7 separate regions of the Homo sapiens genome follow, and regions 1, 2, 3, 5, 6 and 7 are each linked to region 4. The links are contacts of gene promoters, found by promoter capture Hi-C in blood cells and fetal thymus (Javierre and others, 2016). All regions are on one chromosome and are shown on one strand. Each heading gives the region's core, a stretch centred on a gene start or on the middle of the fragment in contact. The rest is flanking DNA. Distances are from core to core; before and after follow the strand shown.

Region 1 (2,919 bases), core at 420-2,919, 450 kb after region 4:
CATCTCAAAAAAAAAAAAAAAAGTTGTTTTTTAGAGATGGGGGGTCTCACTATGTGTTGCCCAGGCTGGTCGAATTCCAGGGCTGAAGTGATCCTTCTGCCTCAGTCTCCCAAAGTTCTGGGATTACAGGCGCGGGCCACCACACCCAGCTAATTTTTGTATTTTTAGTAAAGACGGGGTTTCGCCATATTGCCCAGGCTGGTCTCGAACTCCTGACTTCAAGAGATCTGCCCATCTTGGCCTCTCAAAGTGCTGGGATTACAGGCGTGAGCCACTGCGTCCGACATTGTCAAACGTTTTTTGTTCATTATCACCCTTCTTAGGAGAAAACCCGAATTATCCTAAAATTGAATTTACATCAACTAAATTAATTTCAATTTAATTACATTTAATATCTCCCTAAAGGCAGAAACTAAATACTTAGGGATAAATGCTGTCTGATAGAGCTGGCTTTGGAAGACCACAATATCTAAGATTTTTTTCCTCCCTGAGGACCAGTTTTTTCCCCTGGGGAGTCATCATGAATCACTTCGACTGAGGACGGTTGTGCTTAGAGCAAGGAGCTGAGCAATAAACAAGTAAATGCACAAAATTATACCGGAAAGCCAAGAATGCTACAAAGAAAAGAAGAGGGAGTGGCTGAGGGGAGGCCACTTGGCATCTGAATCATTGGGATCGGGAAAGAAGACAAGGAACAGTTTAAGCAAAAGGATTGTTTTCCCCGAACTTTGGTTTCTTTTTTCTTTCTTTTTCTTTTTTTCTTTTTTAGAGACAGGGGTCTCACTATGTTGCCCAGGCTTGTCTCAAACTCCTGGCCTCAAGCCATCCCCACGCCTTGGTCTCCCAAAGTGCGGGATTACAGGCAGGCGCCACTGCACCCAGTCTGAGCCTCAGTTTCTTCAGCTGTAAAATGGAAGTAATATCCTCCTCACCATGCTTCATATACAATAAGCACTCAATAAGTGAGCTTTATGATTATTATTATTTATTTTAATTTTACTTATTTTTCTGAGACGGAGTCTCACTCTGCAGCCCCAGGCTGGAGTGCAGTGGTGCGATCTCGGCTCACTGCAGCCTCCGCCTCCTGGGTTCAAGCGATTCTCCCGCCTCAGCCTCCCGAGTAGCTGGGATTACAGGTGCCCACCACCACGCCTGGCTAATTTTTTTTTTTTTTTTTTTTTTGAGACGGTGTCTCGCTCTGTCGCCAGGCTGGAGTGCAGTGGCGCGATCTCGGCTCACTGCAACCTCCGCCTCCCGGGTTCAAGCGATTCTCCTGCCTCAGCCTCCCGAGTAGCTGGAACTGCAGGCACGCACTACCACGCCCAGTTAATTTTTGTGTTTTTAGTAGTGACGGGGTTTCGCCACGTTGGCCAAGCTGGTCTCGAACTCCTTACCTCAGGTGATCCGCCCGCCTCGACCTCCCAAAGTGCGAGGATTACAGGCTTGAGCCACCTCGCCTGGCCTATTTTAATTTTAAAGGTTAATAGGACCAGCCCTGAAATCAGCCTCTGCCCCCGCTGGCCCTACTCTGGTACCAGCAGCGCCCAGTAGCATACACAGCCGCGTGCGCCTCCACCTCCGTCCGCAGGTGTCGCTGTGGGTGCCGCGGCTGGGCCCCTCTAGGCGGCGACGGCGGCACCGGAAGTCTCGTTTTCGCCCGCTTCCGCTCTCTGGCCGGGCTTGGGCTGCGTGGAGAATACTTTTTGCGATGCCTACTGGAGACTTTGAGTGAGTCGGCGATCGCGGAAAGGGGCACGGGAAGCGGTTGGGGTGCTCTGGGAAGTATTATGGGGCCTGGGTACGCCGAGGCTGCGGGAGCCGGGCCTGGCTGACTTAATCTTCGTTCCCCACACATTTGTTTCCGCAGTTCGAAGCCCAGTTGGGCCGACCAGGTGGAGGAGGAGGGGGAGGACGGTAAGTGTACACGGTCGCCCGGGGTATTCGCGGCCAGGCCCAAGCCGTGTGACTGCCGCCTGCTTCCATCTCCCAGTCTGGCACCGTGTACCCCGTCACGGTCTGCCCCTGCCCCGCGCCATCCTCCTTGGGACCCGCCTGTTGCCAACTCCAGGTGTTCCCCGGCGGGTCCCTCTTCCTCCCATGCCACTGCCTCCCAGCTGTTCCCCTCCAGGGAGGAAGTTGTAATCTCCCGTCTCCTGTTTCTCTACTGGCGCCTGGTTGGCTTCATGGCCTGGCACCCACCTTCCTACGAGGGATCTCCCATCCTTGCCACTCCGAGTCCCCACAGGGCCATCCCAGTGCGTTGCCTGGCCAGCCCTCTGCCCTTGGCCTGCCTTTCTCCGCTTTTGCTGTAGGCGTCATCCCAAAAGCCCTTCCATCGCAGCTGGGGAGCTCCTGCCCCTGGAGCTGACTCCTCCTTCCTACGCTGCCTTTTGCAGACAAATGTGTCACCAGCGAGCTCCTCAAGGGGATCCCTCTGGCCACAGGTGACACCAGCCCAGAGCCAGAGCTACTGCCGGGAGGTGAGTGAGGACTGCCGGGAGGTGAGTGAGGACTGCCACTCGGTGTCCGGGCTGCCTCTCCCTCCAGCCCTGCCGCTCCTGATCCCCATGACCCAGGGCTCAGTCTTTCTCTGTTTTTCCCCTTCTGCCAGCTCCACTGCCGCCTCCCAAGGAGGTCATCAACGGAAACATAAAGACAGTGACAGAGTACAAGATAGATGAGGATGGCAAGAAGTTCAAGGTGAGGGTGGGGGGTGCAGGGAGTGGGGACCCTTGTGCTTGGGGGCCCATAGACCGGAATGGGGTGGGGTGTGTTGAGGAGGTTGATAAAGGAGATCCCTTGGTCCCAGGAGCCTGACCCTTCTCCCCTCCCATCCTCAGATTGTCCGCACCTTCAGGATTGAGACCCGGAAGGCTTCAAAGGCTGTCGCAAGGAGGAAGGTGAGGCTCTTCTTCCCCA
Region 2 (2,886 bases), core at 378-2,877, 330 kb before region 4:
GGGGGCGGTGGCTCACGCCTGTAATCTCAGCCCTTTGGGAGGCCAAGGCAGGCGGGTCACAAGGTCAGGAGATCGAGACCATCCTGGCTAACACGGTGAAAACCTATCTCTACTAAAAATAAAAAAAATTAGCCGGGCGTGGTAGCGGGTGCCTGTAGTCCCAGCTACTCAGGAGGCTGAGGCAGGAGAATCACTTGAAGCCAGGAGGTGGAGGTTGCAGTGAGCCGAGATCGCACCACTGCACTCCAACCTGGGGGAGAGAGTAAGACTCTGTCTCAAAATGAAATAAAATAGGCACAGTGGGGGCAGTGGCTCACGCCTGTAATCCCAGCACTATGGGAGGCCGAAGCAGGTGGATCATGTGAGGTCAGGAGCTCGAGACCAGCCTGGCCAACATGGTGAAACCCCGTCTCTACTCAAAATATAAAATTAGCCAGGCATGGTGGTACATGCCTGTAATCCCAGCAACTCGGGAGGCTAAGGCAGGAGAATCACTTGAACCTGGGAGGCAGAGGTTGCATTCCACTCCAACCTGGGCAAAAAGAGCAAAGCTCCATCTGAAAAAAATAAAAATAAAAATAAATAAATAAAATGGGCAGGGCCGGGAGTGTTGGCTCACGCCTGTAATCCCACCACTTTGGGAGGCTGAGGCGGGTGGATCACCTGAGGTCAGGAGTTTGAGACCAGCCTGGCCAACATGGTGAAACCCCATCTTTACCGAAAAATACAAAAAATTAGCCAGACATGGTGGCGGGCACCTGTAATCCCAGCTACTCAAGAGGCTGAGGCAGCAGAATCACTTCAACCCAGGAGGCAGAGGTTGCAGTGAGCAGAAATCGTGCCATAGCACTCCAGCCTGGGCAACAAGAGCAAAACCCTGCCTCAAAAAATAAAATAATATAAATAAAATAGGCACAAAATGGGGATGAAAACCCCTCCCTGCAGTGAGGATTCCTAGGTAATGGAGGGAGCTGGAGGTGTTAAGTACTTCATAAACAAGAGCAGCTGCTGTTACCATCATCAGCAACAGATCAATGCCAGCCTCGGAAGAGAATCCCAAACCCCAGAACCCTAACCCGGCCTGGCCTCCCTCTCCTGCCGTAACCTGAGTCGGATCCTCCGATGTCGTCCTCGGAGAAGCTCTGGAGCAGCTGTTCCACTGTGCTGCCCAGCCCCGGGTATCTGAGGACCATGAGGTCACCCTGGGCTCCTCTGGCGCAGCCCTGGCCTCTGGGCGAATCCCAACCCCACTCCAGCACCGGAGCTGGGTGTCCAGGAGCCCTGCAGCCATGGCCCTGAACGGGCACTTCCCCAGCACATCAGAACTATGTCTGAGCAACTGATCAAAAACTTCCGGCCCAGAAATCCCTTTGCAGGGCCTTATGTATGCTACAAGCTCTACTTGCAGAGATACACCTGGATCTGAATGCCCCCAAAGCAGAAAACCTAAATATCCATCAATTAATCAAAGAATGAATAAATGAAGATGTGGCAAATTAAAAGAGATCAATTTCCATCGGTACACACTGACATGTTAAATGATCGAGCCACAACGTAAGGCACAGAGTGGTGTAAAACCTACGCACCACAGGTGTACAGATGGGCGGGGAAGGGACAGAGGGAGGAGGGGCAGTGCACACTGCATTCATGGGGCTTGTCTGGAAACACAATAAAGTGACTTCAGTGCTGCCTCCGGGAAGCAAGTCATACTTTTCAATCCGCACCCTCCTTTGCCATTGTGTGAACGTGCATAACTTGAAGCCCAGCAGGTTGGAGGAGAGATTTATGCGTGCGCGCTTGTATGTGCCTGAGAAACCACAGGTCACGGGCAGTGCGGAGAGAAGGAGAGACTGACTTTTCATGTTACACCCTCCTGAGTGGCTTGAATTTCTCCCTTGTACATGAAAGATAGCCAGACAAAAGGCAATGGCGAAGGCTGGGGGCGGGAGGGCCGGCGTCTACGCAAGTTATCTGGGCCCCTCCCTAGAGTGGGCAGGCCGGACTGGGGACCACCCCCCCAACATCCTTTTGGACCCTGCTGGCTGGGGGAGGGGAGTGGGAACAGGCCCTGAGCCTCTTCTGTGACCCAGCTGGAGGCTGGCGGACAGCCCTGCTTTCCTCAGCTTGGAATCTCCCAGAACAAGCCCTGCACCCACCCCACGGCCCTCAGTGGGTGTGATGGACGTGGGGCAGTCAGCCCAAGGGCATCGGGGCTCCCTGACCTGCATTCCAGCAAGGGAGGCCTCCCAAACGAGCCAGGTGCAGTAAGATCCAGGTTTGAACCTGAGCTCTGCCACCTGCAAGCAAGGGACCATCACCTCCCGACACCTCAGCTTTAGTGTCTAGAAAAATAAAATAACACATGGTTCACTGTGTAGCCATGAGGACGAACCCACCCATGCCCGGCCCAAGACCCACGGGCACACAGTAGTGTGGCATTGGCACAAAACACCAGTCTTGGTTCCTGTGTCCCCACAGTGCTCCGGCTCAAGGCAAAGGGTCGAGAGAAGGAGCCACCGAGAGAGTTCTGGACACAAGGCCATATTGGGCCCAGAACAAGTGTCTGGCCCTGTCCCCCAGGTGGCCACCCCTGGGACCCAACCCATCTGGCACGTGGCTGACAGAGAATCAGCTTCACACACTGCTTGGGAACACTGACTCAGTTTTGGTCTCCCTCTGTCACCCAGGCTGGAGTGCAATGGCCCGCCCAGTCATAGCACACTGCAGCCTCGACCTCCTGTGCTCAAGAAGCAATCCTCCCACCTCCGCCTCCTAAGGAGCTGGGACTTCAGGAAGGATAGAGCTATACCAAGAAAAAAAAAAAAAAAAAAAAAAAAATATATATATATATATATATATGTGTGTGTGTATATGTGTGTGTGTATA
Region 3 (3,131 bases), core at 460-2,959, 460 kb after region 4:
CATGGAACTTACTGGCCACCAACTCAGAACCATAAAACTACACACACACACACACACACACACACACACCACACACACAAACAAAACAAAAAAAACACCAAAGAAAGATAGCTATCACTGTACATATGAATACTGTCCAGGATATCAGATCAATTATCAAATCCAAGGTCTCTGGTGTTTTGTCTCACAGTGTTGAATATATGAATGCTTCTCTATTATACTGACTTGTATTATTTTCAACAAATAATTATGTGGACTCAAAATCTTACATTTTTATTTCTTTTCTTTTTTTTTTTTTTTTTTTTGAGACAGAGTCTTACTCTGTCGCCCAGGCTGGAGTGCAGTGGCTCACTGCAACCTCCGCCCCCCGGGTTCAAGCGATTCTCCTGCCTCAGCCTCCTGAGTAGCTGGGATTACAGGCATGGGCCACCACACCCGGCAAATTTTTGTATTTTTAGTAGAGACGGGGTTTCACCATCTTGGCCAGGCTGGTCTCGAATTGCTGACCTCGTGATCTGCCCACCTTGGCCTCCCAAAGTGCTGGGATTACAGGCGTGAGCCACCGCGCCCAGCCTTACATTTTTATTTCTAATTATAAAATCCAGATTAATCCAAAAAACATAAATCACATGTAACTGAGGTAGGGTTTTCACTTTAAGAATATATTGTTTCTATCACAATTTAAAAATTTACAGCTGTGTCTTTTATATTTATTTTTTATTTTAATTAATTAATTCCTCACTTTATTATTATTTATTTATTATTTATTTATTTATTTATTTATTTATTTTTGAGATGGAATTTCAGTCTTGTCGCCCAGGCTGGAGTGCATGCGGTTGCTCGATCTCGGCTTACTGCAACCTCCACCTCCTGGCTTCAAGCAATTCTCCTGCCTCAGCCTCCCGCGTAGCTGGGATTACTGGCGCATGCCACCATGCCCAGCTAATTTTTGTATTGTTAGTAGAGACGGGGTTTTAGCATGTTGGCAAGGATGGTTTCGAACTCCTGACCTCAGGTAATCCACCTGCCCCGGCCTCCCAAAGTGCTGGCTTTCAGGCATGAGCCACTGCACCCAGACTTTCGCTGGGTGTTAATGTGTGCGTGCGTGCAAATGTGTGTGTGTGTGTTTGTGTCCACTCTGTTATGTGCCCATATGTGTGTGACAGCTGTGGTGTACATGTGTGAGTTTCTGAGTCAAGCTACCTTGGCTGGCTCCCATCCTGGTCTCTTTTTGGCTGTGTGACCGCAGGCAAGTTGCTTACCCTCTCTGAGCCTCAGTTTTCCCTGCTGTAAAATGAGGGTACATACAGAATCCAGCTCAGGTTGTAAGGATCAAATACGTAAAAGGTGTGGAGAGTTTAGAGCCAAGCCCTACACACGGTAAGTCCCCAGTGATGTTCCTCTTTCTATGTGTGGTGTGTGCGTGTCTGGGGCTGGGATCACGCCTGGCTGCCCCAGGGCCTGCAGCCTCCCACGCTCTGGGCTCTGCAGTGGAGGGTGTGGGGGAAAGGGAGGGATGTCCAGGACACTGACCTGTGTTATCAGGCTCTGGTGGCCTGGGCAGGGGGGTCTGGCAATTCTGTCTCATTTCTCATTCGGGAAATGCTAAATATTTATAGTTTGGGCTCCTGGGCCCAGCATCCCAGCTCCACTCCCAGGCTCTGGGGGCTGGGGAGTGGTTACCAAGCCTCCTCTCTCCTTCTGTCCCACTGCCCTCTCCCCGTCTCTAGCTCAGAGGCCCCACTGGACCCTCGGCTCTTCCTTGGACTTCTTGTGTGTTCTGTGAGCTTCGCTGGATTCAGGGTCTTGGGCATCAGAGGTGAGAGGGTGGGAAGGTAGGTGGAGGTTGATTCTCACTGTGGGGAAACTCCGACCACAGCTTGGCTTGGGGGCCCCCAGGCCACCCCGCCACCCCAGGCTGAGAGTGTAAAAGGCAGCGGGTGTTATACACACGTCCCAGTTCTGGGGGGTTGCTCAATCTCTGTTGTGGGGGGTGGGGCATGTCAGTGATCGGGGACAAAGAGAGGACCCTACCCCCGGATCCTTGTGAGCCCCTGCTTGGTGTCTGAGTCCAGAAGTAAATGTGGCCATCTCCAGCCCAGAACCCTCCATGGCTCCTGCCTGACTCAGAGTAAAACCCAAGTCCTCCTCCGGGCCCACAGGACCCTTCACACTTTGCCCTGACACTTCTTACCTCCTCCTGCTTCCCCCTTCTCTCTTCCGGCCTCATAGACATTTCTGCCATTTCTTTTTTTTTTTTTTTTTTTTTTTGAGACAGAGTCTCGCTCTGTCACCCAGGCTGGAGTGCAGTGGCGCGATCTCAGCTCACTGCAAGCTCCGCCTTCCGGGTTCACGCCATTCTCCTGCCTCAGTCTCTGGAGTGGCTGGGGCTACAGGCGCTCGCCACCATGCCCGGCTAATTTTTTTTTTTTTTTTTGTATTTTTAGTAGAGACGGAATTTCACTGTGTTAGCCAGGATGGTCTCGATCTCCTGACCCCGTGATCCACCTGCCTTGGCCTCCCAAGTGCTGGGATTACAGGCGTGAGCCACCGCACCTGGCCTTTTTTTTTTTTTTTTTTTTGAGCCTTGCTCTGTCGCCCAGGTTGGAGTGCAATGGCGCAATCTCTGCTCACTGCAACATCGGCCTCCTGAGTTCAAGTGACTCTCCCACCTCAGCCTCCTGAGTAGTAGCTGGGATTACAGGCATGCATTACCATGCCCAGCTAATTTTTGTATTTTTAGTAGAGACGGGGTTTCACCATGTTGGCCAGGCTGGTCTTGAACTCTCGACCTCAGGTGATCCTCCCGCCTCGGCCTCCCAAAGTGCTGGGATTACAGGCGTGAGCCACCGTGCCTGGCCCCTTTCTGCCATTTCTTGGGTGCAATCTCCGGGCCTTTGCACCTGCTGTTCTCTCTGCCTGGAATGCTCTTCCTCTTCTCTCTCTTCCATCAGGTCTTTGTGAAAGTGTCCCTTATTCTTTATTTTATTTTTATTTTTATATTTAGTAGAAATGGACTTTCACCATATTGGCCAGGCTGGTCTCAAACTCCTAGGCTCAAGCAATCCTCCTGCCTTGGCCTCCCAAAGTGCTGAAATTACAGGCATGAGGCACTGTTCCAGTCAAGTGTC
Region 4 (3,075 bases), core at 60-2,559:
GCAGCCCGCACTGGATTCCTGGACACCCTGAAGGTCCTAGTGGAGCACGGGGCTGATGTCAACGTGCCTGATGGCACCGGGGCACTTCCAATCCATCTGGCAGTTCAAGAGGGTCACACTGCTGTGGTCAGCTTTCTGGCAGCTGAATCTGATCTCCATCGCAGGGACGCCAGGGGTCTCACACCCTTGGAGCTGGCACTGCAGAGAGGGGCTCAGGACCTCGTGGACATCCTGCAGGGCCACATGGTGGCCCCGCTGTGATCTGGGGTCACCCTCTCCAGCAAGAGAACCCCGTGGGGTTATGTATCAGAAGAGAGGGGAAGAAACACTTTCTCTTCTTGTTTCTCCTGCCCACTGCTGCAGTAGGGGAGGAGCACAGTTTGTGGCTTATAGGTGTTGGTTTTGGGGGTGTGAGTGTTTGGGGGACGTTTCTCATTTGTTTTTCTCACTCCTTTTGGTGTGTTGGACAGAGAAGGGCTCCTGCAGGCCACAGCCACCTAAACGGTTCAGTTTCTTCTGCGCCTCAGGCTGCTGGGGCCTCAGACGAGACCCAAGGGCAGAGCATTTAAGAGTGAAGTCATGACCTCCAGGGAGCCTAGAAGCTGGTGGCCTTGGCCGGCTGTGCTCAGAGACCTGAAGTGTGCACGTTGCTTCAGGCATGGGGGGTGGGGGGAGCGTCCCAAATCAATAAGAAGGTAGAATGAGTTATGAGTTATTCATATTCTGTTGGAAGCTTGTTTTCCAGTCTCTTGTACAGCGTTTTAAAAGAAATGGATTCTATTTATTATGCTTTATTGGAAAAAATGTTGTAATAATTTAATGTTTTTACCCATTAAATTAAGACTTGTGCATGATCACAGCACGGGTGGCTTCTGATTTTTGAGTCTGGGATGGAGAGTTACACATCCCGGATGTTGATGGGGATGAGGACGGGGGTCGCGGATCGTGGATGTGGTGGGTGAGGGGAGAGAATAGTAATTCCCAGGGCGCCAGGGTGAGTGAGCTGGGTGGGGCAGCGGTTTTCGCTGTCGGAACGGAAGGGAAGCAGGAAACCGCGAGTGGAGAAAGGGCCCCCAGATGTCAGCTGGGTGCCCGGAGCACAGGGGGTGGGGCGGGTGGGCGGTGGCCGCGGCCTTCCCCGCAGGGGCGTAGCCGTGGGCGGTGACTGCGGTGATGAGGCGAAAGGGATCCCGGAAAAGCCAGGGGCGGGGTTAGCAGCGGTACGCCTCGTTTACAAGTGGATGCGGGCGGGACTGAGGGCGGCCCCGCCCCGTCCAGGGCTTCCTCAATGCGCGTGCGCAATGGGCCACAGAACCGCCATGCCGGAACCGCGCGGGTCGTCGCAGCTGCGGGTGAACGCGGCGTTTGCCGCGCGGTACAACCGCTACCGGGAGCGCGAGGAACTGCAGCGGCGTGAGTGCGGGGCGCATGCGCGCGGGAGCCTGCGCGCGCCGGCCGGTTGGGAAGTGGGGAGTCGAGTGGCCCCGCCGGCTGACCTGGGGGGGGGCATCCCGTCTGTGTCCCGCAGTGAAGGATCGCTACGGGGACCGAGACAGCAGCAGCGACTCCAGCTCCGAGTCGGACTCAAGCGACGAGCGCGTGGTGCGCGTCCCCGCCCCGTCCTGGACGTGCGGAGGCGTCCAAGCCCCCCTCTGCACCCCGACCCCGATGTAGACGGGGGGGAACCCCCAACCCCAGAGCGCCCTGCGGGAGCGTCCCATCCTCCGCTCCCCATCCCATGAGGGACAGACAGTGCCCCCCCTCTCCCCAGGGGAGCCAAATCCCCGTTATTTTCTCTCCCCTGCCACGATCCCCACCTGCCCACTCTGATGTGTGGGGCGACTCTGTCCCCCAAGAACCCCCCCTTTCCTCTTTCATCCTCAAGAGTCTAGCCATTTTTTAGTGTACTCCTTGCGCCACGTGGGGCGCCCAACTTCTCACATCAGCCCTGATCCTGGCCCCACTGTGCGGCCTGGCCCAGCCCCTCCCCGCTGTCTCTCTTGTGCCCTCAGCCCACCTGCCCCTTGTCAAGTCTTTGTCTTCCCCAGGAATTACCTTCTCCTTGCCCCTCACCTTCCTCTACCCATATCCTGTACCTACCTGTGGCCTGCCCCTGCCCACCCCAAGAGGGCCCCTCTCCCTCCTGCTGTTTGACCACCTGTTTGACCTCCCCAGCCAGATCCACCCCCCTCCATCCTAATCCCTACGCTGAGCTCACCTGCTGGCGCCAGGGCTCTTATTATCTCCCTTCTGAAATCTATCCCCAACCCTTTTCCTGCCCTAGGAATTTGATCCCCAGCAGGAGCGGGACTTTTACAAAACGCTCTCCTTGTTGAAGAAGAAGGACCCCCGCATTTATCAGAAAGATGCCACCTTCTATAACAGAACAGGTCCGGGGCCACTCCTGTCTAAACCTCTCCTTCCTCTGGAGCAGAATCCGGGGTCCTTTCCTGACTGTGGATTCAGAGAAGTGACTTGACTTCTCTGAGCCTCTTTTCCTGTCTGTAAAGTATATCTAACGGTAGCATCTCCCCTCAGGGCTGTTTTAAGGATAGATTGGGATTTACCCAGTTTACACAGTTCATCTGTTTTGACTATTGAATGAATTGCTTCACAAGTCACAAGTCCTTAGCAGAGCCTAGGTTATTACCTGGTGGTGGAGTTAATGACTGTGTCCTTGGCACTATTCAAGGTGGGAATTGCTGACTGAATGATTCCAACTCCACCAGGCTGGGCAGGTGGTTCAAGCATCTAATCCCAGCACTTTGGGAGGCTGAGGTGGGAGGGTCAATTGAGGCCAGGAGTTTGAGACCAGTTTGGCCAACATAGCAAGACCCCATTTCTCTTTTTTTTTTTTTGAAATGGAGTTTCACTCTTGTTGCCCAGGCTGGGTTGCAATGGGACGATCTCAGCTCACTGCAACCTCCGTCTCCCAGGTTCAAGCGATTCTCCTGCCTCAGCCTCCTGAGTAGCTGGAATTACAGGCACGCGCCACCACGCCCAGCTAATTTGGGATTTTTAGTAGAGACAGGGTTTCTCCATGTTGGCCAGGCTGGTCTCGAACTCCCAACTTCA
Region 5 (3,151 bases), core at 38-2,537, 310 kb after region 4:
TTCTTTTCTTTCTTTTTTTTTTTTTTTTTTGAGACAGAGTGTTGCCCAGGATGGAGTGCAGTGGCGCGATCTCGGCTCACTGCAAGCTCCGCCTCCCGGGTTCACGCCATTCTCTTGCCTCAGCCTCCAGAGTACCTGGGACTACAGACGCCCGCCACCACGCCCGGCTAATTTTTTTTTGTATTTTTAGTAGAGACGGGGTTTCACCATGTTAGCCAGGATGGTCTCGATCTCCTGACCTCGTGATCCGCCCGCCTTGGCCTCCCAAAGTGCTGGGATTACAGGCGTGAGCCACTGCGCCCAGGGTGGCCCCTACATTTTCTTAGAGATGTTATGAACAGCAGGGTAACTAAAATGCAAACAGCCTCTTCCAGGCACCGAGGAATGGTTTAGTCTTTTTAGTGCTCTTATTTGCAAAAACCAGTTAACAAAGATTATCAACATTTCTATAGAACTTATTATGTGCCAGAATTAAGTCATTTATTCATCACAGCAACCTCCCGACCGCTGACAAAATAGGGACACTGAGGGACAAGAGGGGAAGGCAGGATTTGAACCTAATCAGTCGGGCTCCAGAATTCTGTCTCCCTAACCCTTAGATGATGTCACCTCTCAGGCTTCAATCTCACACAGCGCTACAGCAGGGGAAACTGTCATCATTCCCCTTTGACAGGTGGAGAAACGGAGGCTGTAGAAATACAGCACTTTCCCAAGGGTACAAGCCCAAAGTCATCGTGACTCCTGAAATCCCGCTCTTCATCCCTCTGCCACTCAGTTCACCATTACAGCCCTCGCTCACCTGGGCGCGGTGGCGAAAACATCGGGGTGCAGGTCGGCCAGGCCCACGCGCTCCTGCTCGAAGCCCCGCAAGGACTCGACCCAGGCCTGCACTGGGCGTCGATGAGTGGGTACCGGGAGCTCGACTTTGCGCAGCACGGGCTCCGGGAGACCTGGAGCGATTGCGGGGGTCAGAGGTTAGGGTCAAGGGTCAGACCTCTCTGTCGCCGCCCCTCCTGGAGCCACCCCGGTTGCCTTACCCTCGCTCGCCACCTGCTCCGGGTTCTCGGTCGCACGCGCTGCCTCTTCCGCCAGGGAACTCAGGCCCTGCAAGGGTTGGGCGAAAGTGAGAGACGACCCCTGGACACCCCCAAATTTCATCCTTCGACCACGCCTCCAGCCCCTGGCCTCACCTGGCTGCCGGTAGGCCGAAGCCAGGCCCGCGCCCCGGCCCGGACGAACTGCAGCATCGCCGCGCAGCCTCCCACGCCGCGGGAGGTCAAGGCCACTGGAGCCTCGCGAGGCGCCGCTGGATGACGTCACGCACGCGACGCCGCCCTACCCGCCGCGACTCCGCGCTGGAAAGCGGGGTGTGCAAAACCGAAGATGGAGGGGGTCCGACCCGGCGTGCCCAGACCTCCACCCCAGGACTAACCCCCAGACCCAATTTTCACTCCTGCCTCAAGGACCCTCCGTAACACTGGGGAACGCGACCTCACAGCAAGAAGACCCAGCTTCCGTAGGCCTAGCCTACTTTGGGTCCCGCCTCCGACGAGCCGGTGCAGGAATTCAGCCAATGAGACCTCTCTGGCCCAATTCAGCCAATGACTGTTAAGCCTGAAGGAGTGACCCCCGCCCATAAGTGGGCAGTTCTGGAGTGAGCAACTAAGGAATACAGCCAATAACGCTTAAACTTTTGCTGTTGGTCACGCCCACCGGGCCACGCCTTCATCCCGCCTCCAAGGCTGTCGGAGATGGTTTTTTCTTTATCCAGTTATGTGGTTTTGTTTTTTTATTTGTTTTTTTGTTTTTGTTTTTGTTTTTGTTTTTGTTTTTTTTGAGACGGAGTCTTGCTCTGTTGCCCAGGCTGGAGTGCAGTGGCGCGATCTCGGCTCACTGCAAGCTCCGCCTCCTGGGTTCACGCCATTCTCCTGCCTCAGCCTCCCGAGTAGCTGGGACTGCAGGCGCCCGCCACCACGCCTGGCTAATTTTTTGTATTTTTAGTAGAGACGGGTATCACCGCGTTAGCCAGGATGGTCTCGATCTCCTGACCTCGTGATCCTCCCGCCTCAGCCTTCCAAAGTGCTGGGATTACAGGCGTGAGCCACCGTGCCTGGCGTTTTTTCATTTGTTTAAAGGCAGGGCCTTATTGCCCTCAGAAAGCCTTCAGGATTGGGCCTGCCAGACCATGCCTCCCAGTTTAGATTCCCCAGGGCAGGGCCATGTCCCCCCGAAACCCCTCAGATTAGGTATTTGTGTCCCTTACCCCCTAGACCAGGGTCCTCTCCCCTACCCCCTTAAACCAGGTCCCGTCCCCTCTCAGACCTTCCAGGGCTCTCCAAGGACAGAACAAAGTGGGGAGTCCACAGATCCTGGAGTGCCTCCCTTGTCGCCCCCTAACAAATCCGAATGCTTATTTTTAGTTTCTTTGTTTTGGTTTTTAGAGACAAGGTCTTCCTCTGTCGCCCAGGCTGGAGTGCAATGGGCAAGATCATGGCTTACTGCAGCCTCGACCTCCAGAGCTCAAGGGATTCTCCTGCCTCTGTCTCCTGAGTAGCTGGTCTACAGGTACGCAAGCCCGGCTCATTTTTGTATTGTATTTTTTTATTTTGTATTTGTATTTTGAGATGGAGTATCGCTCTGTCGCCCAGGCCGGAGTGCAGTGGTGTGAGATCGCACATCTCGGCCTCCCGGGTTCAAGCGATTCCCTGCCTCAGCTTACCGAGTAGCTGGGACTACAGGCGCCCGCCACCACACCTGGCTAACTTTTTGTATTTTTAGTAGAGAGGGGGTTTCACCGTGTTAGCCAGGATGGTCTCAATCTCCTGACCTCGTGATCCGCCCGCCTCGGCTTCCCAAAGTGCTGGGATTACAGGCGTGAGCCACCGAGCCCGGCCCTAATTTTCGTGTTTTTATTAGAGACAGTGTGGCACCACGTTGGCCAGGCTGGTCTTGAACTCCTGACCTCAGGTGATCCACCCGCCTCGGCCTCCCAAAGTGCTGGGATTACAGGCCTGAGCCACCGCGCCCGGCCTAATTTTTTTTTTGTAGAGATGGCGGGGGGTGGGTCTCCCAATGTTGCCCAGGCTGGTCTTGAACTCCTGGGCTCAAGCAATTCTCCCGCATTGGTCCCCCAAAGTGCTGGGATTACAGG
Region 6 (2,780 bases), core at 135-2,634, 400 kb before region 4:
TCACTGACAAGAAGTTTAGAGACCACTGCACTGCCCTATATCACAATTCTGATGACATCACCTCCCCTGCTCAAAAGCCTGCACGATCAACATTTACGTCTCCTAAAGGGCTGGACACAAAATGATTTTAGGTGGCCCATGCAAAACCATTTATTACTTTCCTAACTATGCATGAATTAATTTTTATTCCTTTTTTTAGACAGGGTCTCGCTTCGTCACCCAGGCTGGAGTGCAGTGGCTCAATCATGGTCCACTGCAGCCTGTACCTCCTGCCCCAGCCTCTCAAGGAGCTTGGGACTACAGGGGCATTGCACTCCAGCCCGGATGACAGAGCGAGACTCCGTCTCAAAAAAAAAAAAAAAATCAAGTGTTCACTACGCATCAGGTGCAGCAGTGTGTTAGCGGCTTCCCATGTGACCTCATTCAACCCTCACAAGAAGCCTGTGAAGTTTCGGGCATCCTCGTCCTACCTGTTTCACAAGTGGGGGGCCCTACTGCTAAGCGCCTCGCTTGAGGTTAAGCTACGATTTAGAGAGCTGGGTGTGAATTCAGGAGGTCTGATTCCAGAATGAGTACTCCTTACCACCACCCCACGCTAACCACCACCCCACACTTTGTAGGGGAGATGAGGACAACTGAGGTTCAGGAAACAATGGCTTGGAAAGTGCAAAAACTGTTCAAACAACTAACCTGTATCCCTTACAATCCACCCCCAGTCCTGCACCAAGCTTTCTTTTTCTTTTTTTTTTTTTTTTTTTTTGAGACAGTCTTACTCTGGTGCACAGGCTGGAATGCAGGGGCACAAGAATGGCTCACTGCAGCCTCCACCTCTCTGGCTCAAGCAGTCCTCCTACCTCAGCCTCCTGAGTAGTTGGGACCACCGGTGCATGCCACCACACTCGGCTAATTTTTGTATTTTTTGTAGAGATGAGGTCTCACTATGTTGCCCAGGTTAGTCTCAAACTCCCGGGTTCAAGCAATTTTCCCGCCTCAGCCTCCCCAAGTGCTGGGATTTCAGGTATGAGCCACTGCACCTGGCCCTGCACCAAGCCTTTTACACAGATGGTCACGCGATCTTCCACAGGACCCCCTCATTCAATCCACATAAGTTCGCTAAAGACCTACTATGTGTCAGGCCCAGGGTACTGTGGGGCCAGCCAGGCAGACACAACCCCAGCTCTCACGGTGCTGGGGGTGACAGCTACACCGGAAAGGACCAAGTTGATGTATGAATGTAGCTGAGGGGAACAATGGCTAGTCCGAGGTGGCCAGGGAAAGTCAAAATACAATCCTGGCGCAGTGGCTCACACATGTAGTCCTAGCACTTTGGGAGGCCGAGGTGGGTGGATCACCTTAAGTCAGGAGTTTGAGACCAGCCTGGCCAACATGGTAAAACCCCATATCTACTAAAAATACAAAAATTAGCCAGGCGTGGTGGCGGGCGCCTGTAGTCCCAGCTACTCAGGAGGCTGAGGCAGGAGAATCGCTTGAACCCAGGAGGCGGAGGTTACAGTGAGCGGAGATTGGGACTCTGAACTCCAGCCTGGGCGACAGGCAAGACTCTGCCTCAAAAACAAAATACAATCCTACACACCCTCCCTGATTTTGAGGCCCCCTCTTCCAAGCAGCCCCCGTGATCTCTGGCTACCACCGATCCCCTGCCTGTCCGCTGTGTCCCTCTCACAGTGCAGGTTCAGAGCAATAAACGATAGGCCAAGAGAGTTTGTTCCCACATTTACCACCCGCTCCCCTCCAAGACTGCAGAGGCTCCAGGATCCAACCCCCGACCATCCAACACTTAGTAGGGCCTCAAGAAGTTATCTGCTGAACAATGAGGGAGATTGGACCAGACAATTACAATAGTGCTTCCCGCTTGCGAGGAACCATTTTACAGGCTTTCACCAATTCCATTTGGGAGATTACCCCCTTTCACAAAGGAGCTTTCACAAAGGAGGAAAACTAAGAGGTTCAGAGAGGTTAAGCCACTTCCCTAAAGTGACAGTGTGCTAAGTGACTGACAGCACCAGGAATCAAGCTTGAATGCAGCCTATCAATCCAAACTGAAAACTTGCTTCAAATTCCTGCGAAGCGGCTTTTCCGCTTATTCCCTTGCTACTTTCCCCAAGGAGTCACTGACCAAAAAAAAAAAAAAAAAAAATCAAGACTGGTATCTTCAAGATCGGGACAAAACACTCGCCCAAAAGGTCCACGTTGAAAATAAAAGCCTTAATCTGAAAAACCAATTGGGAAGGAGAAAAAAGGATGCAAAAGAAAAGCAATGCTTTTACACAGCAAAGGATTTCCTCCGTGCTCCCCTACTTGCCGCCGACCCCATCCCCAACCCCAATTCGGGCAAACATTTTGAAGTCACTAACTGCAAGGCATCGGGGGAGTCCTTTACCTTTCCTTGAAAATCTGGAATGACACGTTTTTAAGACAATTTGAGGTCGGCTAGCCCAAGGGGACCGCTAATGCCCGTGTCCGGCCGACGCCGGACATATCTGGAGGTTTGGCTGAGCCCCGATCGCAGCTTCGCCAAAAACGCAACATTCGGGTCGGACCCGTTACCACGCAGCCAGAAAAGCCCCAACGCCTGCCTATTGTTGCAGCCGCTGTAATTGGGAGGGCGACTGTAGGGGTGCCGGGCGAGGGGGGCGAGCTTTGTCCGGCGACCCCGGCGAGAGCGCGCGCGGAGAGGATCGCGCGGCCTCCACGCGGCCCGGGCCCCCCACCCACCCCGCCGCTCCGCGGGGGCCGCCGCTGCCACGGCCTCGCGACAC
Region 7 (2,991 bases), core at 269-2,768, 370 kb after region 4:
TTGTTAAAGACACAATCTTTCCCCCATGTTCTGGTGCTTTAAAAAAAAAAAAAATTCTGGCTGGTTACGGTGGCTTAGGCCTATAATCCCAGCACTTTGGGAGGCTGAGGCAAGTGGACTGCTTGAGGCTAGGAGTCCCAGACTAGCCTGGCCAACATGGTGAAACCCTGTCTCTACCACCGAAGATACAAAAATTAGCCAGGCGTGGTGGAGTACGCCTGTAATCCCAGCCTACTAGGGAGGCTGAGGCATGAGAATCGCTTGAACCTGGGAGGCAGAGGTTGCAGTGAGCCAAGATCTCACCACTGCACGCCAGCCGGGGTGACAGAGTGAGGCAGGGTCTTACCCTGTCGCCCAGGCAGGAGTCCAGTGGCCCAATCATGGCTCATTGCAGCCTACACTGCCAGGGTTCAAGCCATCCTCCCACCTCAGCCTCCCAAGTAGCTAGGATTACAGGTGTGTGTCACCATGCCCAGCAAATCTTTGTATTTTTTGTAGAGATGGGGTATCCCTATGTTGCTCAGGCTGGTCTTGAACTCCTAACCTCAAGCGATCCTCCCACCTGGGCCTCTCAAAGCACTGGGATTACAGGCGTGAGCCACTGCGCCTGACATGGTGCTTCTTAATTTATTCTTACTTTTTATTTTTATTTTTTTGAGACAAGGTCTTGCTCTGTCTCCCAGGCTGGAATGTAGTGGTACAATCATGGCTCACTGCAACCTCTGCCTCTCCGGTTCAAGTGATCTTCCTGCCTCAACCTCTGGAGTAGTTTGGACTATGGGCACATGCCACAACGACTAGCTAATTTTTGTTTTTCTTTTTTTCTTTCTTTCTTTCTTTCTTTTTTTTTTTTTTTGAGATGCAGTTTCTCTATGTTACCTAGGCTGGTCTAAAACTCCTGGGCTCAAGCGATCCTCCCACCCTGGCCTCCCAAAGTGCTGGGATGACAGGCGTGAGCCACGTGGTGCTTAAAAAAGGCAACAAAAAACCCCCCACACACTGGGTATAGAAGTGGCATGGGCCTCTATACACTGTGAGATTCTTGGTACTAGCTACAAATTCTGTGTATACTCAAGATTTTCTAGAGTAGGTGCAATTACCCCGTTTTACAGATGAGGACACAGAGGCTGAGCCGTAGTGACCCACCTAAGGTCGTATAGCCAGCAAATAGATGGAGGTTGGATTGGAACTGAGGACTTTACTCAAGGGCTCTCACAAACCCTTGGGGGCTTCTCGCTGCTTTATCCCCATCACACCTGAAAGAATGAATGAATGAATGCCTCGGGCACCGTGCCCACCTCCCAGCAAACCGTGGAGCTTGGACGAGCCCACTGCTCCGCGTGGGGGGGGTGTGTGCCCGCCTTGCGCATGCGTGTTCCCTGGGCATGGCCGGCTCCGTTCCATCCTTCTGCACAGGGTATCGCCTCTCTCCGTTTGGTACATCCCCTCCTCCCCCACGCCCGGACTGGGGTGGTAGACGCCGCCTCCGCTCATCGCCCCTCCCCATCGGTTTCCGCGCGAAAAGCCGGGGCGCCTGCGCTGCCGCCGCCGCGTCTGCTGAAGCCTCCGAGATGCCGGCGCGTACCGCCCCAGCCCGGGTGCCCACACTGGCCGTCCCGGCCATCTCGCTGCCCGACGATGTCCGCAGGCGGTAGGTACCATGGGGGGGAACACGGACTCAGGGGGACAGGCAGGGCGCTGGGTGGGGGGTCGCTTCCCCTCGGGGTGGCCGGTGGCCGCTGCTGACAGACGGGCGCGCATGCGTGGGGTGGTGCGGCGCGCAGCGGCAGTTGGCGCGGGCAGGGTGGCACTTCCGGTCGCGCGTGCCCGGGCTGTTTGGCGCCAAAATGGACCGTGGATTCCCCCGTAGCTCCCTGGTGGCTAGAAACTAGGCGGGGTGGGGGTTCTCTTTTGATCCCCAAATACAGCAAGCTTTGGGTTCGTTTCCGGGGTCCCCTTCTTCAAGCAGCGGTGGGCCGGGCTCTTGACTCCAGCTTGGTCGCACAGGAAGTGGGCAGCCCGCGGCCAACGGACACCCCTCGGGCACCGGCACTTCGGCCTCCACTTCCGGTGTCCGGCCCGGTCCCCGGGGGCGCTTCTGTGGTGGGGGGTCCCTCAGTGCCTTTCCCCCAAAGCTGTGCATCTCGATGGCGGCCTCCAGAGACGGATGTCACCCGTCGGGGCCTGGGCTGGGCTGGCTCATGTTCGAGAGCCCAGCCTTCCGTGGGGTACTCATTCTGTCAGTTGGGACTGTGTGGTTCTTGCTCCTTGGGAAAGTCCATGTTTTGGCAGGAACTTTAACCGTGCATTGCAGCGCAGGGCCCGGGAAGCGTGAAGGCTGCATGGTTGGTCTTTTCCTGTAAATCTGTGCCTGTGAGCCGTGGGCATCAGGGAAGTCTTGCTAATGAGAACTGGCTACACTTTCGTGTGTGTTTGTGTGTGTTCATGGGTGTGTTCTTTAGTGTGTGTCTAATGTTGGAGGCCCTGGCTTTAGCAGTTCATGCCTCTGTCCAACTTCCGTGCACAAGGATCAGTGGGAGCACTGGTCCCAGCCCCTTGTTCATGAACGCCATCAGTTCATTCCTGAAAACTTGTTCAAGTGAGGTGTGCGTGAGTCAGAGGAACCCTCACCAGGCGTGGACACTTCCAGCTGGATTTGTGAAAGCACTCTTTGCCATTTTTCTATTTCCTTAGGCTTGTTAACTGACCTGGTTGGGCCAGTCCGGTTCTGATTTGGGTCTTTGGGGAGGGATGGATATTTGGTTCAACCCCCGCTTTTTTTCTTTTCTTTTTTTTTTTTTTTTTGAAGGCTGGGTGCTGTGGCTTATGCCTGTAATCCCAGCAATTTGGGAGGCAGTGGCGGACGAATCTCTTGAGCCAGGAGTTTGAGACCAGCCTGGGCAACAAGGCAAAACCCCATGTCTACTAAAAATACAAAAATTAGCCTGGAGTAGTGCCGTGCGCCTGTGGTCCCAACTACTCAACAGACTA

What was found. The method cuts DNA at HindIII sites, captures the fragments that hold promoters and counts their contacts. A CHiCAGO score of 5 or more calls a contact.
Region 1: the fragment with the promoter of EIF3G here is called in contact with the fragment with the promoter of KRI1 in region 4 in 2 of 17 cell types (total CD8 T cells and naive CD4 T cells); the score reaches 6.2 in total CD8 T cells.
Region 2: a contact is called between a fragment that was not itself captured here and the fragment with the promoter of KRI1 in region 4, in 1 of 17 cell types (neutrophils). The highest score is 6.0, in neutrophils.
Region 3: the fragment with the promoter of ANGPTL6 here is called in contact with the fragment with the promoter of KRI1 in region 4 in 2 of 17 cell types (total CD8 T cells and non-activated CD4 T cells); the score reaches 6.9 in total CD8 T cells.
Region 5: the fragment with the promoter of MRPL4 here is called in contact with the fragment with the promoter of KRI1 in region 4 in 4 of 17 cell types (total CD8 T cells, total B cells, activated CD4 T cells and 1 more); the score reaches 6.2 in total CD8 T cells.
Region 6: a fragment that was not itself captured here is called in contact with the fragment with the promoter of KRI1 in region 4 in 1 of 17 cell types (fetal thymus); the score reaches 6.3 in fetal thymus.
Region 7: a contact is called between the fragment with the promoter of DNMT1 here and the fragment with the promoter of KRI1 in region 4, in 1 of 17 cell types (monocytes). The highest score is 6.1, in monocytes.

The regions. Positions count from the first base shown.
Region 1 is chr19:10,118,649-10,121,567 of GRCh38, reverse strand. EIF3G (eukaryotic translation initiation factor 3 subunit G) reads left to right here and starts at 1,669. Exons shown (of 11, transcript NM_003755.5): 1 at 1,669-1,728; 2 at 1,868-1,914; 3 at 2,397-2,480; 4 at 2,612-2,700; 5 at 2,841-2,900. The coding sequence starts at 1,709. RefSeq lists enhancers at 1,411-2,166, 2,167-2,919. The HindIII fragment of the contact is 4,736 bases long and covers 1-2,919 here.
Region 2 is chr19:10,890,748-10,893,633 of GRCh38, reverse strand. All of the region lies in intron 1 of CARM1 (coactivator associated arginine methyltransferase 1), which reads right to left. Among named protein-coding and RNA genes, the nearest start is that of CARM1, 21 kb to the right of the region's middle. The HindIII fragment of the contact is 4,050 bases long and covers 1-2,886 here.
Region 3 is chr19:10,101,256-10,104,386 of GRCh38, reverse strand. ANGPTL6 (angiopoietin like 6) reads left to right here and starts at 1,709. Exons shown (of 6, transcript NM_031917.3): 1 at 1,709-1,819. RefSeq lists enhancers at 1,530-1,579, 1,650-1,699. The HindIII fragment of the contact is 11,381 bases long and covers 1-3,131 here.
Region 4 is chr19:10,564,244-10,567,318 of GRCh38, reverse strand. It overlaps KRI1 (KRI1 homolog), which reads left to right and starts at 1,309. Exons shown (of 19, transcript NM_023008.5): 1 at 1,309-1,413; 2 at 1,529-1,602; 3 at 2,285-2,390. The coding sequence starts at 1,320. It overlaps CDKN2D (cyclin dependent kinase inhibitor 2D), which reads left to right. Exons shown (of 2, transcript NM_001800.4): 2 at 1-859. The coding sequence ends at 261. RefSeq lists enhancers at 1-120, 1,069-1,636, 1,839-1,888, 1,637-2,204 and a silencer at 1,039-1,568. The HindIII fragment of the contact is 9,818 bases long and covers 736-3,075 here.
Region 5 is chr19:10,250,350-10,253,500 of GRCh38, reverse strand. MRPL4 (mitochondrial ribosomal protein L4) reads right to left here and starts at 1,287. Exons shown (of 9, transcript NM_015956.3): 1 at 1,191-1,287; 2 at 1,038-1,104; 3 at 800-950. The coding sequence starts at 1,247. RefSeq lists enhancers at 785-1,358, 1,215-1,624, 1,755-1,904, 1,359-1,932. The HindIII fragment of the contact is 20,723 bases long and covers 1-3,151 here.
Region 6 is chr19:10,961,351-10,964,130 of GRCh38, reverse strand. The region is part of intron 1 of SMARCA4 (SWI/SNF related BAF chromatin remodeling complex subunit ATPase 4); the gene reads right to left. Among named protein-coding and RNA genes, the nearest start is that of SMARCA4, 1.7 kb to the right of the region's middle. RefSeq lists an enhancer at 87-216 and a silencer at 2,734-2,780. The HindIII fragment of the contact is 1,307 bases long and covers 731-2,037 here.
Region 7 is chr19:10,193,480-10,196,470 of GRCh38, reverse strand. DNMT1 (DNA methyltransferase 1) reads left to right here and starts at 1,518. Exons shown (of 41, transcript NM_001130823.3): 1 at 1,518-1,651. The coding sequence starts at 1,572. RefSeq lists an enhancer at 1,085-1,314 and a silencer at 1,575-1,814. The HindIII fragment of the contact is 2,077 bases long and covers 1-1,934 here.